Linked DNA regions of Homo sapiens: all the other regions are linked to region 1. The links are contacts of gene promoters, found by promoter capture Hi-C in blood cells and fetal thymus (Javierre and others, 2016). All regions are on one chromosome and are shown on one strand. Each heading gives the region's core, a stretch centred on a gene start or on the middle of the fragment in contact. The rest is flanking DNA. Distances are from core to core; before and after follow the strand shown. Region 1 holds the start of SMIM2 (small integral membrane protein 2). Region 2 overlaps TSC22D1 (TSC22 domain family member 1). Region 3 overlaps TSC22D1 (TSC22 domain family member 1). Region 4 has its middle 25 kb from the start of LACC1. Region 5 overlaps TSC22D1 (TSC22 domain family member 1).

The links. Contacts are between HindIII fragments. The CHiCAGO score rates a contact against its expected background, and 5 or more counts as called.
Region 2: a fragment that was not itself captured here is called in contact with the fragment with the promoter of SMIM2 in region 1 in 7 of 17 cell types (erythroblasts, M2 macrophages, endothelial precursors and 4 more); the score reaches 9.9 in erythroblasts.
Region 3: a contact is called between a fragment that was not itself captured here and the fragment with the promoter of SMIM2 in region 1, in 1 of 17 cell types (M2 macrophages). The highest score is 6.3, in M2 macrophages.
Region 4: a contact is called between a fragment that was not itself captured here and the fragment with the promoter of SMIM2 in region 1, in 3 of 17 cell types (M2 macrophages, M1 macrophages and erythroblasts). The highest score is 5.8, in M2 macrophages.
Region 5: a contact is called between a fragment that was not itself captured here and the fragment with the promoter of SMIM2 in region 1, in 12 of 17 cell types (M0 macrophages, M2 macrophages, M1 macrophages and 9 more). The highest score is 9.2, in M0 macrophages.

The regions. Positions count from the first base shown.
Region 1 is chr13:44,159,612-44,162,579 of GRCh38, reverse strand. SMIM2 (small integral membrane protein 2) reads left to right here and starts at 1,323. Exons shown (of 3, transcript NR_197392.1): 1 at 1,323-1,435; 2 at 1,649-1,977. RefSeq lists an enhancer at 2,192-2,968. The HindIII fragment of the contact is 6,510 bases long and covers 1-2,968 here.
Region 2 is chr13:44,451,424-44,454,528 of GRCh38, reverse strand. All of the region lies in intron 1 of TSC22D1 (TSC22 domain family member 1), which reads left to right. LOC124903167 (a long non-coding RNA gene) reads right to left here. Exons shown (of 4, transcript XR_007063778.1): 2 at 3,026-3,105; 3 at 1,702-1,893. Among named protein-coding and RNA genes, the nearest start is that of TUSC8, 47 kb to the right of the region's middle. RefSeq lists enhancers at 1,513-2,012, 2,013-2,514. The HindIII fragment of the contact is 1,439 bases long and covers 1,017-2,455 here.
Region 3 is chr13:44,471,627-44,474,441 of GRCh38, reverse strand. All of the region lies in intron 1 of TSC22D1 (TSC22 domain family member 1), which reads left to right. Among named protein-coding and RNA genes, the nearest start is that of TUSC8, 67 kb to the right of the region's middle. The HindIII fragment of the contact is 2,108 bases long and covers 197-2,304 here.
Region 4 is chr13:43,903,343-43,906,542 of GRCh38, reverse strand. No RefSeq gene overlaps it. Among named protein-coding and RNA genes, the nearest start is that of LACC1, 25 kb to the right of the region's middle. The HindIII fragment of the contact is 1,159 bases long and covers 994-2,152 here.
Region 5 is chr13:44,430,899-44,433,958 of GRCh38, reverse strand. It overlaps TSC22D1 (TSC22 domain family member 1), which reads left to right. Exons shown (of 3, transcript NM_183422.4): 3 at 1-1,816. Among named protein-coding and RNA genes, the nearest start is that of TUSC8, 26 kb to the right of the region's middle. The HindIII fragment of the contact is 4,737 bases long and covers 1-3,060 here.

The sequences.
Region 1 (2,968 bases), core at 74-2,573:
CCACCAAAGAGATATCACCAAAGATCTGGGGGCAGCTTGGCCAGTCTATGTGCTGACTCTCTGCTGGAGCTGTCTCCTAATCAGGTCACTGCTAGAGTTCCTCTTCCTAAATGTCCCAGTGCCATGACTTTGGTGCTCTAGCTTGTGGGATTGAATCAATCTAAGAGTCCAGAGTCTATGAGGACTCCTTCTTCTCTATTGTATGCTGCTGTCTGAAGCTAAATGCTATTGTACAAGTTTTGTTGCTGTTTAGATTTTTTTTTGTTCCCAGATTATTGTTCCAAAAATAGACCTACGATATATTCTTATACATTTGAATTTAATTAAGAACCTTTTTCTCAATGACATAAATATGGTTTTACTATTTCCAGCCAGGCCAGACAAAGATGCCTGAAGACAGATTTCTAAATGATGCTATGTGCCAATTTCTCTGATCTTTTTAATATTGTAACTAAGGGGCCTTGCTCTGAGATGGTGGTTTACGATTTTGACATGCTGTCCTGTACCACTCTCTGATCACAAGGGAATACGTAGAAACTCACCAAAGCAACTGCTGTCAGTCATCAAAGTGGAGCCACATTGTCCCTTCTAACCTCATAAGGATCCTTATGGGATTCAGGATGATCACATTTTCAGTGCTCTAAGGACTGTCTCCGTATGACCCCAGCCATACCATGCCCATTACTGATGTATTTGACCTGTTGAGCCTCCAACAGCATTGCAGACTCCACTTTTTGTGTTCCAACAGGACTAAGGCCAGAAGCGAATGTCCTATTTTTTCCTGCCATTTCTCTGCTGAGCAACAGTTCACCCTTGAAGCTGCTGCTGCCTAAAGAACAGGAGAAGATTCAGGAATGCTAACAATAGTTACCTACATATCGCATGCCCTCTGCCCTTGCCCATTGTAAGAGCCTCACCACTTGGATCAGTAAGAGTCCACACTTGCTCAGTACATCTTGGTGCTCACTTCAGCTGTGGGCTCTGATTTAAACATCCAGCTCAGGGGATGCCTCTTTGGTGCATGTCATAATCAGGAGAAGAATGCTGGCTTTGGATTCTGGAACTGACTCCATTTGTAGTGAAGAGTTTGGAGAGCATCAATAATGGGATGGCAACATTCATTCATTCATTTATACCTCTAACCAGTCTTTCCTCACATACTGGTTGAGTACTCAATACGTGCCCTGTGCTTAGCTGAGTACTGTTCAATGGTGAACAAAGAAGACATGGTCTTAACTAGAAGTTCCTATTTCAACAGAGTAGCCCAAGGAACTTCAACCACTTTTGCTACAGGTGTATTAGTTACTGCCAAGAGTCTGTAAGTGTTCATGGGCCTCATTAAGCTCTGCCTTCCTTCTGCTTTTTGGAGCCTGGCCTTTGGTTGGCCTTGAATGAAGAGTGGGGCCCCAAAAGTACCACTGTCAGCACTCTCCAGGTGAGTATTATCCTGGGAGAGGCCAGGGCATGAGGAGGGCCAGGGCGTGGGGCCCTCTGAAGGCTGTGTCATCCCAGGCTTCAGCCACAGAGGTTTTATTACGGAGGAAAGCTGAGCTGTGAGCACGTTGCTAGGCTGTGGCTATTTATTTTTATAAACGAGCCTTGTGCTTAATTTAGAAACCTGCTTTTTCTTTTTCTTTCTTCTTTCCAGCATCATCTGGCTGTCTGGCACCATCAAAGAATTGCATTTCTGACCCAAGAAGAGCTTATGGGTGGATGGGGGTGGGATGGAAGCTGGGGAGAGGATTGATGCCAGCCAGCTGCCTCACAGGGTGCTGGAAACACGTGGCCATGCCATTAGCATCCTGTTCGGCTTCTGGACGAGTTTCATCTGTGACACCTACATAGTCCTCGCTTGGATCAGCAAGATAAAAGGCAGCCCTGATGTTAGTGCCTCCTCTGATGAGCCATACGCCAGAATCCAGCAGAGCAGAAGGCAATGCCACGCAGAAGAGGACCAAAGTCAGGTGCCAGAAGCAGGTGACATCTCCACTCTCAGTTCTTTGGAGGCAGCTATTTTAATAGAACCACTTTACTGCAGCTATTTTGACATGAGGATATTTTGGTATGGCTCAAAGATTCAGCCGATAAATGTTCAGCTTTTTAAAAAATAAATGATGAGTAAAATAGGCATCTTGCAGGCCATCTGTGAGCTTCACCTCAACCTTGATCTTCACCTCCCCCCCTCCATTGTCAATCTTACCTCCAGGCATCAAGGGTGTATGGATTGGTAACAGATGAAGGAAAGGACTGGTAGAGGTTCAAAATGAAAGAAATAGCAGGTCAGGACTCCAGGAGGGTTGAGGGTCTTTTAAAGTAAAACAAAACAAACAAACAAACAAAAAAACAGGGTCAACCAAATTCAGAAGTCAGGTAGAAGTCAGAGAAGGAATGAAAGATGGGAAACTGGTTATAAACCAAATACAGCGAGTCTGAATTTTGGCTTGTTTTGAGGCTGCTGTATCAAAACAGTTGTGTTGGAAGAGCTGCATGAAATTGTTGGGCAAGAAATAGTCCACTCATGATTCAGATAAGCTCATTTTGCCTCTTCCATGGTCGATTTCTGACTCATAAATGTCTATACATTTCACTTTACGGCTTATGTGAGCCTCAGTTTCCCCACATAAAATGCAGATGATGATGTTGGCCCTTCCTCTTTCCCCACCTTTTGCTCTCCTTCCAAGTGGCATGATGAGGAATGAGCCAGCATCTTGTAAACTGCTCCAGGCCACCTGGAGAAATGTGCTTGCGTAAATAGTCGGCATTAGTATACGTGAGTCTTCCATGAGTAAAGAATTTCAGAGTTGGCAGCCGTCTCTGCCTGGTGATTCATGTGGGCACGATGATGCCCTTAGCTACAATGTATGGTGTGGGTGATGAATTTGTTCTTGTCACAGCAGAGGACTGAGTATTCTTTACCCAAATGCTATAGATTGAGTTTGCACATGGGAACTAGATTAGCTCTGAAGAG
Region 2 (3,105 bases), core at 487-2,986, 290 kb before region 1:
CTGGAGAAGAATTGCCCCTGGTGTGGGAGTAGAGGATGAGGAGGAGCATAAGAGTTTCAGTGGTGTTGATAACGTTCTTAGTTTAGCGGGGGGCAGTTTGTGGGTGTTTGTTCTACCGTTATACTTCCTAACTTACATAGATGTTGTTATATATGTTTACATAATGTAAATACTTCATTAAAAAAATACTTTCTGTTCCAAGCATACCTCAGTGTTAAAACAGGTTAATCACTCATTTAATTTAGTTATCCTGATTAGGTAAGAAACTTGGTTTTAAAGAAAATCTCTTCATATAACATAACTGGTCTTCCCCTGCTGTCCCCCTCCCCCAATCTAATGTATTAAAGCCAAAGTTTTTTTAGAATTAACTCTGTTTTTACTAGCAATATGTATTTGAGGTATTCAGTTTTATGTGTTTGTGCAGCATTACCCTAACTTGGGTTACGTAATAGGTGATGGAACTTATGCTTTGTCACCAACATCATTTTAATGGCCTTTGTAAAACATCTTGTTTTATTCAAAATAATGCAACTGAATTTTTAAATATATGTAGTATTTAATTTGGGTAATGAAACAAAGGAATTCATTCCCTCTACACCAGACTAAATTAATCCTTTATGTTTTAACTTTACCTTCAAACCAATGCAAAATCATTAAGTAAAATTGAAGCATCTTCAATTAGGAGCATTTCTTATTAGAAACATACGTGTAATACTCTGATAAATCTGTATATTTTAGATATAAATTGTCTGAAGGTGTCTAGCCATGATGACTAGAAGTAACATTTACTATTTTAAGGACAGGTGTCAGTTTTTTACTAAATTAATTGAACTGCGTATTTCTGGGGTGTCTAGAAATAGCCCACTTTTTGGTTCTGCTAGATTATTGAGTCATGCCCTGTACCAAAGCCGACTGACTTGAGTTTGGATCTTGGCTCTGCCATTTGTTAAACATATGTCTCCTTGGGTAAGTTGTCTGACCACTATCAGATTTGTTTGTGTTAATGAAAATAAGCTTTATTGCATCAAGTAATAAATACATATAAAGATATAAACAGTTATTTTCTTCCAGTTTTGATCAACTTAAAGTATGCATAACCGAAATCTACTGATAGTTTGAAAATTTTGGGTGTTCCTTGTTAAGTTTGGTAGGTTATTCTGCTGTATTTATAACTTGTGCATTTTAAAAATTGACTTCAGTGCACTAATAGTCATGCATATGTTTATGCAAAAAAGTTATATTAAGCAGAAACGAGGAGTGGCTACTAAGTGCGCTGTTAGTATGCATTGAAACAAAATCCTTATGGTTGTATTAGCTTAACAGAACAGTTTGGGGCACAGAAACATATTCAAAGGAGAAGGTTAAAGGGAGACACTGGTATCTTAGAGGCAAACTAGTTTGCTGAGATAACTTTACATGCACCTTTTAAATCAATGCTTAAAAAATAACTTGGGTAATTCCTAACTACTGAAAATGTAAATTCTAATTAACTGCAAAATCTTTTTTCAATCTGTGAGACTGTAGTTCAGAGCCAGGTGAAACATGGGAGGAAAAACCAACCTGTTAGCATTTTGAAAACAAGAGTTTCATCGAAACAGGGGAGGTGAACTGTAACTTCTCATCTTGTAAAAAGATGGAAAACCTTTAAAGCCAAAAGCAGCAAGGATATGGCACTCTGTTCGGTTTTAGCCAAGCACTTACCTTACCAGCTTTCTAGAGTGAATAATGCCTCGATTTAGTCTCTTTATTCTGTTCTTACTCCACGTAGGCAGGGTTGATCTCTCCCCAACTCTTCACTGGGGCTCCTGGCTGTTCCCAGCTCCCTGGGTGTAGCCTATGGATAGTGGCCCATGGTCACTCAGCAGCTGGCGGTACTGGGGGGGCATCACCAGGCTGTCAGAAGGCAAGCAGACGTCCCTAGAGTGTAGCCAAGTTACTTTGTAAGACATACTCACCCTTCCCCATGAGTAGCCCAGCCAGGCCATGAGGACAGTGGTGGCATGGGGCCCTGTGAGGCGCAGAGGCCCAGGCTCCCTGTGCTCGGGCTCTGGGAGCACTGGCAAATATGATTGCCCTCACCCTCGTGCCCACTGTAGGGTGTCATCCACACATTAGGCAGGTGGGCGGGCACAGAGGAGGCCATAAACTTCAAGCAGACTTTTTAACTTTAAAATGAAGAAAAGAATGGTACCTACCGCCTCAGAGTAGTAAAGATTAACTGGGGTATGAGTGTGCGGCAGTTTCCTTTTTCGAGTAGTTGCCACCAACTCTGCCACTCCTTTTTGCTATACATTGGGGTTGCCTTACAACATCTCACTTTATTTAGTTCCATGACTTGTTAGTTACTTCTCGTTACTTAACCTCATTTGGGTTCTTAAGGCTTAGTTCTGTTATTTGATAGCTTTATATCGTGTTTTGTTCAAAGTTCTCCTCTTCTGTCAAGTCGGACTAAGCTTGTGTCTCTAGCAATTTGGAATTGACATGAGAGGACCTGGATTGTTTCCATCTATATCTGTCCCCTGCCTGCTTTCCTGACTGAACAAGTCCCTGATGTGGGGCTGGGAGCGCAAAAGTGGGAAAGGACAGGGGTGTCCTTGCCAGGGAGCCCTTGGTGAGTTTGCAGTCCTCTCCTCGGTCAGCCATGGCGGATGTCCTATTGGTGATCGGTGGGATAGATACGGGCATGCAGTGGCCCCAACAGCCCCACAGGTAAGGGGCTGTGCCCCCTATAGCTCACTGGGGTCTGCTCAGCCCCTGACATGATATGGCCTCATCTCACAGTTGATCCTCAGCGTGTGGCTTCATGCCGCATTCTTCTGGATCCCCTCCAGAGCCATTTGCTTAAAGTCTCAATTCATTGGTGAGAAATATGCATGTCATGGTTTGTTTTTATTTCTCCTAATAACTGCTATTAATTGTGCTCAGTTGAATCACCCTTTCACTCTGGTAGCAGGCTTCCTTACTAGCATGTCGACCCATTTCCATCGCTTTCCAGTTAATTTTGGTCATTTAAACAGTCACTTACCATTTTTTAAACACTTCGTTCTTTGCATTTTGAAATTTGACTCTCATGTCAGAATCAAAGCTCTCTCTTCTCTGCCCACT
Region 3 (2,815 bases), core at 1-2,500, 310 kb before region 1:
TATTTTTGTTCTCTTTGAAGTAATGAGTCATCATAAATAAATTGGACCACTGCCCCTTTAAGTAGAAACTGCCTTAGGGGACAGATGGAATTTTGGGACTACTTCCTGAAGCACTTGTTTGTCCACCAGGAGTGTCAGTTGGGCCTGGGTGGGAAGAGAGGCCCAAGAAAGCCACCATAGTCTGTAGCGTGAAGCTTTTCCTATAGTCTAGTGATAATCCTGCTGTGAGTACCTCACTGTAATTCAAATAATTGTGGAAGGAATTGTCTCTCAGTTGTCCTAAGTCCTGCCTAGTACCTTGAAAAGCAGTTGGTTTCTAAATACTCAGCTTGGAGGGTGAAATAAGGTTCAGTTCAGCCATTTTAGTTCTTTGCTTTGTTTTTCCCAGCTGGAAAAATTTTAAAGCTATTTTAAAAATCACTTGGAGGATTATTTGGAGATCATGATAGAAATTTTTTACTGGTTAACTGAGATGAATTGTATAGTCCTTTTTTAGCTTAAGATCTTTAAACATTTAGTTGCATAACAGCTTTTTAATTTGTTGGACTCCTCAGTTGAAGCCATTACAAATTGGCTTAAAATTGTAAAAGATTGAGTATTATATTGAGCCTTTCTATCAGAAAACATTAGCTTAATTAGTCTATAATTAAAGATGATGTTAGCTGTACTTTAGTTTGTCTTAGGAATAGAGGTCCTCAAATTATATGTAAACCATCAGTTGCATGGTTCTTTTGAAATGTGGATTTTTGTGAATGCTTAATAAAGCTGGCCTGACTAGCTTAATTTAAAAATATATACATCTATGCTAAATATATACACACACACACACACACACATATATACTGCTTCTACTGTTTGTATAACTTAAACTGATTTGCATGCTGACAAAAGTACTCATCCAATTGTACAGTTTTATTTTTATTTATTTATTTATTTTTTATTTTTAGAGTCAGGGGTCTTGCTCTGTCGCCCAGGCTGGAGTCCAGTGGCATGATCTTGGTTCACTGCAACCTCGACCTCCTGGGCTCAAGAGATCCTCCTGCCTCAGCCTTCCAAGTAGCTGGGACTACAGGTGTGTGCCACCATGCCCAGCTAATTTTTGTATTTTTTGTAGAGATGGGTTTTCACCATGTTGCTCAGGCTGGTCTCAAACTCCTGACCTCAAGTGATCCACCTGCGTTGGCCTCCCAACGTGCTGGGATTACAGGCCTGTGCCGTTGTGCCTGGCCTCCAGTTGTATAGTTTTAAATGAATGTAAAATACTTGAGTGATTGGTAGATTTAATATTATTTAATAAATTTAATATTTTAAATCTAAAAATGCATTAATCAGTTTGAATAAAAGATGTACATTGGGTCTGCAATTCCGTTTTAAAAAGAGGAATTCCCCTGCACAAGCTCTCTCTCTTTGCCTACTGCCATCTATGTAAGACGTGACTTGCTCTTCCTTGCCTTCCGTCATAATTGGGCTTCCCTGGCCACGTGGAACTGCAAGTCCAAGTAAATCTCTTTCTTTTTTAAATTGCCCAATCTCAGGTCTTTATCCACAGCATGAAAATGGACTACTGCAGTTGTACAATTAGATGTGGAGCTTATTTTGAGAAGAATTTGAGGGATAGAAGGAATGTTCAAAAATATATACCTCAAAACAAAGAAAATTGCCTTTCCTTGAAGATTAGGTCATGGCTCACTGCAGTCTCAACCTCCCAGGCTCAGGCAAAGGCAGTCCTCCCACCTCAGCCTCCAGGGTAGCTGGGTCTACAGGCACATGCCACCACAACCGGTTAATTGTATAGCCAGGGTTTCACCATTTTGTCCAGGGTGGTCTCAAATTCCCGGACTCAAGTGATCTGCCCACCTCAGCCTCCCACAATATTGGGGTTACAGGCGAGGACTATGCTTTTTCATGTTTCCGTTTTAGGGACCTGGTACACATAGCAGGTCCTCATATGTTTGTTGAGTGAGTGAGTGGGTGAGAGGGGAGACAGAAATCAGATATGTCAATGGTTGAGAGTGTCTGAAGGATTGATACCAGTGTGCAAAGTAAAACATGCTGTCTCATATGAAAAAAAAGGAACAGTTCTCAAGTTGTGAGACAAAAGAGATGACCAGTATTTGTTAAATAGAAGAATTCAAAGGATGCTGTATAACAGAAAAATGCCACAGTTTATCTTTGCATTTGTGACCCCTCTTTATTCCAGGGGTCACATTCTAAGACTCCCCATGGATGCCTGCAACTGAGGATAGGATCAAAACCAATATTCAGTATGTTTTTTCCCTATACATACATACCTCTGATAAAGCTTAATTTATAAATTAGGCACAGTAAGAGATTAACAACAACAGTAATAGAACAATTATAACAATATGCCAGCATTACTACTCTTGCACTTTGGGGCTATGAAGTAAAATAAGGGTTACTTGAATCCTCCAATCACTTTGACACGCTGACAGTGGATCTGATAACTGAGACAGTTACTGGGTGACTAATGGGCAAGTAGTGTATACAATGTGGATCTGCTGGACAAAGGGAGGATTTCAGCACATAATTTAACATTTATGACTTATTTCTGGAATTTTCCACTTAATATTTTTGGAGTATAGGTAACTAAAATTATGGAAAGTGAAACCACAGATAAGGGAGGACTCCTGTAATTGGTAGTTTATATTTTCACAGGATAAGCTTTCAATATTTTATTTGTCAAAGGAGACTTAGTCATCACTTAACAATTTTCTAAAAGTAATTATTGTAGATGATGCTCTGAAACTGCCAGTGGTTCTGTATTTTAATTCACTGTTTTAGAACTATTCTCTTA
Region 4 (3,200 bases), core at 324-2,823, 260 kb after region 1:
AATATCTTTTGGAAAATTAGATAGCAGAAAACTAGATAGGATATTTTAAAAGCAAGAATCTTTCCTTTGAGGCAGGAGGAAGATAAAAGATGGCTTAAGAGCAGTTATATATTTTTTATTTGAAAAAAGTATAGTTCATTAAAGAAAATATAGGAAAAACTACACAAATGCAGAAAAAGGAAACAAAAGCTTTCATAATTTCACCATCTAACACAACTAAGTTAGTATTTTATTTTCAGTTTTTAAAATATGTTTATTTTTGTGATTTCTTCTCATAGTTGTAGTCCTACCTGATTACACAATTTAATTTCTTGGAAGGTTTTCCCTCTCTTCATTGAAGACAATCTTACGTAGAGCAAGTTAATTGGTGCCATTCTGCATTTCAGACAGAATTAATTTAAGTGAAAGAGAACCATATGACTTTGCAAGACTATGTGAATATCTAGAATCTGCTCTATTTGTCTAGGAGGTAGTGCAGAACTAAAGGGGTACATATGGTACTATACAGAAGCTTAAAGGTCTATCTCTTGATTTCACTGTGGAGAGGGTATGATATTTAAGAAACAAAATGGAGAAAGGGAAAAGTCTATCACCAGGCAAGTTCCTTAGAACTAAGAGATAGGTTACAGAAATAAGAGGTAGGATAATAGGTATTTACCAGTTCTCATGCTAAGAGTATTGTTGGCAGAAGAAAGAATATGATTGAGAGTAAATGGTAGGAAGTATATAATATTAACATTATTATAATCTCCATAATCATCTCTAGGGAGGAGCTTGCATTCAGACAATACTGTTTCTTAAGATTCACTACAATGGCTATTTTCCAGATAAAAAAAGTTTGACATCTTTAAATTCCGTTAGATTGAGGCAACTAGAAACAGTAAATATTCTTGAGTACATACTGCCACCCAGTGGATATATCTGTGTGATGCACAAAGCATTTGCGAACGAAGAGGACAAAGAGGTTTTGACTATGATGCTAGTGTTAAAGCTTTGCTTGCATTCAGTGAAGGCCATAGATCCTATGTAATCCCAAACTGAATTACACCACTCATTCAAAATTCTAGACTAGACTTTAATACACATTTTCAAAGTATTCTGATAAATATTACCAGAGGCTTTTGGCAATGGGAGAAAAATATTATGTGTGCTTACCAACACTATAGATACTAACTTCTTATTAATATTAATAAAACTAATGTCAGTGAATTTCCAATAAGATGAATCAGAGATACTCAACTTCTAGTAAGGAAGGAAGAGGGATGTCATAGCAGAGACTAGACAGTGGAAAAATTTGGCAAACACTGCCTCAGTCATATGATCAACAATACTAAGTCATATTGGTAGTATATACCTTGGATATGGTAATCTTGACTGCCTTGGATGCTAAGAACTCTGGCATGAAGTCTAAGAGAATTACACTTTTGGCATAATAATCTTGGATTTCCCTTTATCTGAAAGCTACTAAAGGTTTACTAGAGTGGAAATACACGCAGACAATGGATGGAATTTGGGTCATTTAAATGAATATTGAGACCATATTTATGTAGAGACTTCCTAGGGAGTCCTGGTATTCTGTAGATAAGTCCAATTATATTTGTGTTTCCTAAAAAGGAATAATACAATTTACGGAACTGAAATAACATTGAAAGTCTAAGAAAAACTACTTGTCTGAAACTTTATTTTTTGCTACGTTTATACATCATCTTCTCCAAGAAGTTTACACATCCACATGTGAACACTTCTGGATAGGAAATCTGCTAACTAATGTGTTCTCCATTGTTGGGTATGAGATTTCTTGACCTCACCATACTTACAAGTTAATAAATTAGCCTATCACTGTTTCTTAAATGTTGGCGGAAGACATGAGATAGAAGACTTCATTATTCATGCTTAGCAAGCAGCATGAACATCATATTTGAGTAAGTTCTCCTTATGTCCCATGGAGGCACCATAGAAGGGTCCAGGTATATCTCGTGCATATAGTGGATTTGTGTCTTAGGAATACTGAGCTTGGGGAATCCACTGCTTTTATAATAAGCAGAAAGTAAGGTGGCTCTTTTTCCCAAAGTGGGACCTAAACTTATCCCTTAAGGTTGCTTTCTGCAAACACAATCTTGAAAAATGGTGGCATTAAAAAAAGGTCAAAGCTTTGCATTCTTGGTATGCCCAGGAAAAAATGCTCTGGGAGGTTTAAGGCCTATTGGCAATTGTTTTTCCTAACATTCATACAAAGCCAAAATCAGCCTTCCTATAATTTCCACTAATTGGTTCTGTGTTTTCCAATCTCTTTGGTATTTTGTATGTCAGACACCTGCAGTGTGCTATGTTATGCCACTGAGATTTATTTTCTCCATGCTAATCATTTCTAATCCCTTTGAGACCATTCCTCCATGATCATATATGGCTTTGGGATCTCTCACCATTAGTATTGCTTTCCTCTGAACTTGTTTAGGTGTTACTTCCCAAAATGGACTATGATATTGCAAGTATGGACCATAAACTGTTATTTAGCTATACATTTCTATTCCACTCTTATGCCAGTGGATGGAAACTATGTAGTTTTTCATTAAAGGAATCATCATGCCAACCAGATTCCATTTAATATAACGGAAAATCTAAGAGTAAACTCCTTCTTTTAAATAGTTGTTGTTTAGCAGTTCTAGTAGAAAAGTGTTAAGTCATTACTGTCTGTATTTTGCAAATTATGGACCTCCTGTATATGAACTGTTTGTTTTCCATGTTAATATATATGGCATATGACTCCCATATTCCTTTTTGGGGGGCAGGGGAGGGGTGCAGCATCTCACTCTGTTCCCAGGCTGGAGTGCAGTGGTGCAATCATGGCTCACTACAGCCTCGACCTCCTGAACTGAAGCAATCCTCCCAGCTCAGCCTCTCAAGTAGCTGGGACTACAGGCATGTGCCACCATGCTAGGCTTTTTTTTTTTTTTTTTGTGGTAAAGTTGGGGTCTCGCTATATTGCCTAGGCTTCATATTCTTTGTTCAAATAAGAATCCAACAGTCACAGGCTTTTGTTTTCTCCTCCAACTCATGCACATAGAAGAGTAGGGGATTGACAATGTTTGTCTTCTGCTTTAACAAAGAAAACTGACATGTATATTTACTTTTTCAAAAACAGAGATATTACTTTAGATATTATTATGTTTAATTTTTTAAAAATTATGACCAAGTTACAA
Region 5 (3,060 bases), core at 1-2,500, 270 kb before region 1:
TATTTTGTACAATAGAGGACTGTAACTACTATTTAGGTTGTACAGATTGAAATTTAGTTGTTTCATTGGCTGTCTGAGGAGGTGTGGACTTTTATATATAGATCTACATAAAAACTGCTACATGACAAAAACCACACCTAAAGAAATTTTAAGAATTTGGCACAGTTACTCACTTTGTGTAATCTGAAATCTAGCTGCTGAATACGCTGAAGTAAATCCTTGTTCACTGAAGTCTTTCAATTGAGCTGGTTGAATACTTTGAAAAATGCTCAGTTCTAACTAATGAAATGGATTTCCCAGTAGGGGTTTCTGCATATCACCTGTATAGTAGTTATATGCATATGTTTCTGTGCATGTTCTCTACACAATTGTAAGGTGTCACTGTATTTAACTGTTGCACTTGTCAACTTTCAATAAAGCATATAAATGTTGATAAACAAGTGTTTTTCATATGACCCTGTTAACATAATGGCAGTCATTTCCACAACTGTTTCCAGGTAAAGTTAACAATTTGACTAGTAAAATCCTGAAGGGCAGTGGAATGATTGGAAAAGTAGGGGCGTGATTTGACTGCATGAAGTAAAAGGAAATTGACACATTGAGTTGTTCAGCAGGTAAGAGAAGAGACAGTGGAGGAGTCCAGCTCAATTCTAACTACTGTGTGACTTGGACAGGTTGCTTCACTCCTGGACGGATGTAGGGGTTTGAAAGAGATGATCTCTTACATTCCCCTTTGGCTTTAAAATTCTAGGAGTCCTTGAAAATCTTAATTTTTTACTGAACTGAGAGGAAGAAGGAGCCTTATTCTGTGTATAATTGGAATAAGCAGATCTAGGATCAAAAGACGGAAGTTGGAGAAGCTGATTTCCACTTTAAGAACCCTGTCACCCTGGGTTGGGATGTTTCTCCTAGTGTAGGATGAGTTTCTAGCTCCTGGGATAATTCGTTTTGTCTAAGCAAAAGATGATTTGAGGTGGGACCAGATGAGCAAGGATGTCCTTGCAGTTGATTCTGCATGACTATAAAACAGGCCAAAATTAAAACCACGAAGGAATCCTGAGGCAGATTGGCCCCTGGCACCTGAGGAGTGAGCCTGAGGGATCCCACTCTGCAGTAGGAGTAACGTGAGCGAGCAAGTGAATGGGGTGGGTTTACCGGCTCTGTAATCTATCAACCTAGGGCCTCAGCAGTGGCCCCCTGCCCAGTAGGAATTGGACCAATCCCAAGTTCTAAGGCTTGTCTTAAGTCCTTGCAGAACAAGGACAAACTTTCTGAATCATTCATTTCTCTCATCTAGAGCTGGTGGGAGATTGAGAGGTGAATGGGACATCCAAGATCCCTAAAAAGAATTGTTCGATAGCGTGCATGTGTTATAAAGTGGTGACACGGGCATCCTGTTGAAATGATGGATGGCTCACTGCCATAGGCTGATAGCAGTTGTCATAAAGATATTTTGGGGGAATTTGAAAAGGACGTAAAGAAAAATCTTTCATATTGGCTTGTTGGTTATATAACTTCAAATTTAATAAAGGAATACTTACGTAGTAATTACATTTCCTTGAAAAAACTATAGTGAATAGAAATCCCTAGCCATTTCATTTTTTATGTTTTTAATGAAGATCTTTAAAATACCATAGGTGGTAATCGTGGAAAATTTGAAAAATCTCATGTCAGTGTATTAAGATGGTGGAGAAGTTTTTTTCTCCATTATTTAATGGAACTTTGGGTCTTTTTATTAAAAATGTGAGACTCATGAAATTTTGGCAGCTGAATATTTGTGAAATAAGAATGAATTATTAAAAGATGTCTTTCCATACATGTTCCTCATTTTAGTAATTACTAAACATACTTGAGATGATTGACTTATATTTAAACATATTTAAGGTAATTTAAAAAGGCATTTTGCTACTTGCTTATAGACCTGAGTGTAGGTCTTATTGGCCTGTGGGTTATTATATAACTGATTATGTTGCACTTATGTTCTGTGGAGAAGGAAAGATTTTTAAGGGGAATGGCATGCTGTACCAGCACTGAGTGTTCATGACATCAGTTGCAGCAGGAGAAACCCCCGTTCAATGAAGGAGAAGTAGGAATTTTACATGGATTTGAATGAACGTCTACTTTGTATTTCAAATGAACAGTGTTCATATTTCAGTAATTGTGTGCATTTTTTGCATACTTTAAAAGAGAACTTTTATTTTTCATTATGGAATAAATATGCAATGCCAGAACAGCTTTAAATTTATACAAGAAATGTATAAAAGTTAATTATAACTAAAATTAGGAATGAAAATTAATCTATATAGACACTACTCTGCTCTTGCTTTGTGTAAAATAAGTAGTTGAAACTACCAGGGGCTGACAACATGACTGCTTTTAGATGTCAACTTCAAATCCATTCAGGCAGCAATTGTGGCATTACGATTTTTAGAAATGGAGGCAGAGAAAATCAAGTTTCCTCTCCCTCTTAGGTAACATTGCCTGCAAGTGGAGATCTGTGCCCACCGATAGAACTTGGAAGCAGACAGTGCCATAGGTTCCTGCACTGGTGTGTGGGAGGACCCTGAGCTGAGAGGCAGGCTTCTGGCTGCTAGGCCTGGCCCTGCAGTCATCAGCTGTTTGACCTTTGGACCAGGAATGGAATCCTTCAGACCTGAGTTCTCACCTGTGAAATAAGGATTGGATCAGGTCACAAAGATCCTGTCTTGCCACAGATGCTACAGTCCTCTGCATCTGATAATGACTTTATTTTATTCTTCGAACTTTTGGTGGGAGGGTGTGTGTGTGTGTGTGTGCGTGCACTGTTTTTGTTTATTCATTTAACTTAATGGCTAAAATTAATTTGGTTTTAATCCTAGCTCCTCTGCTAGTTACTAGCTAAGTGACCTCAGGCAAGTTCCTTGTTGTTCTCTGTTTCCTCATGCTTAAAATGGGGACATGCTATCTCCATAGGGGTTTTGGGAGGCTGATGCTGGGAAGCTGTCAGCACAGAGACAGTTCAGAGTGAGGTGGGTTCAAGGAGTGTTAACCATTACTATTATTTCTGAGTCATTCATCTGC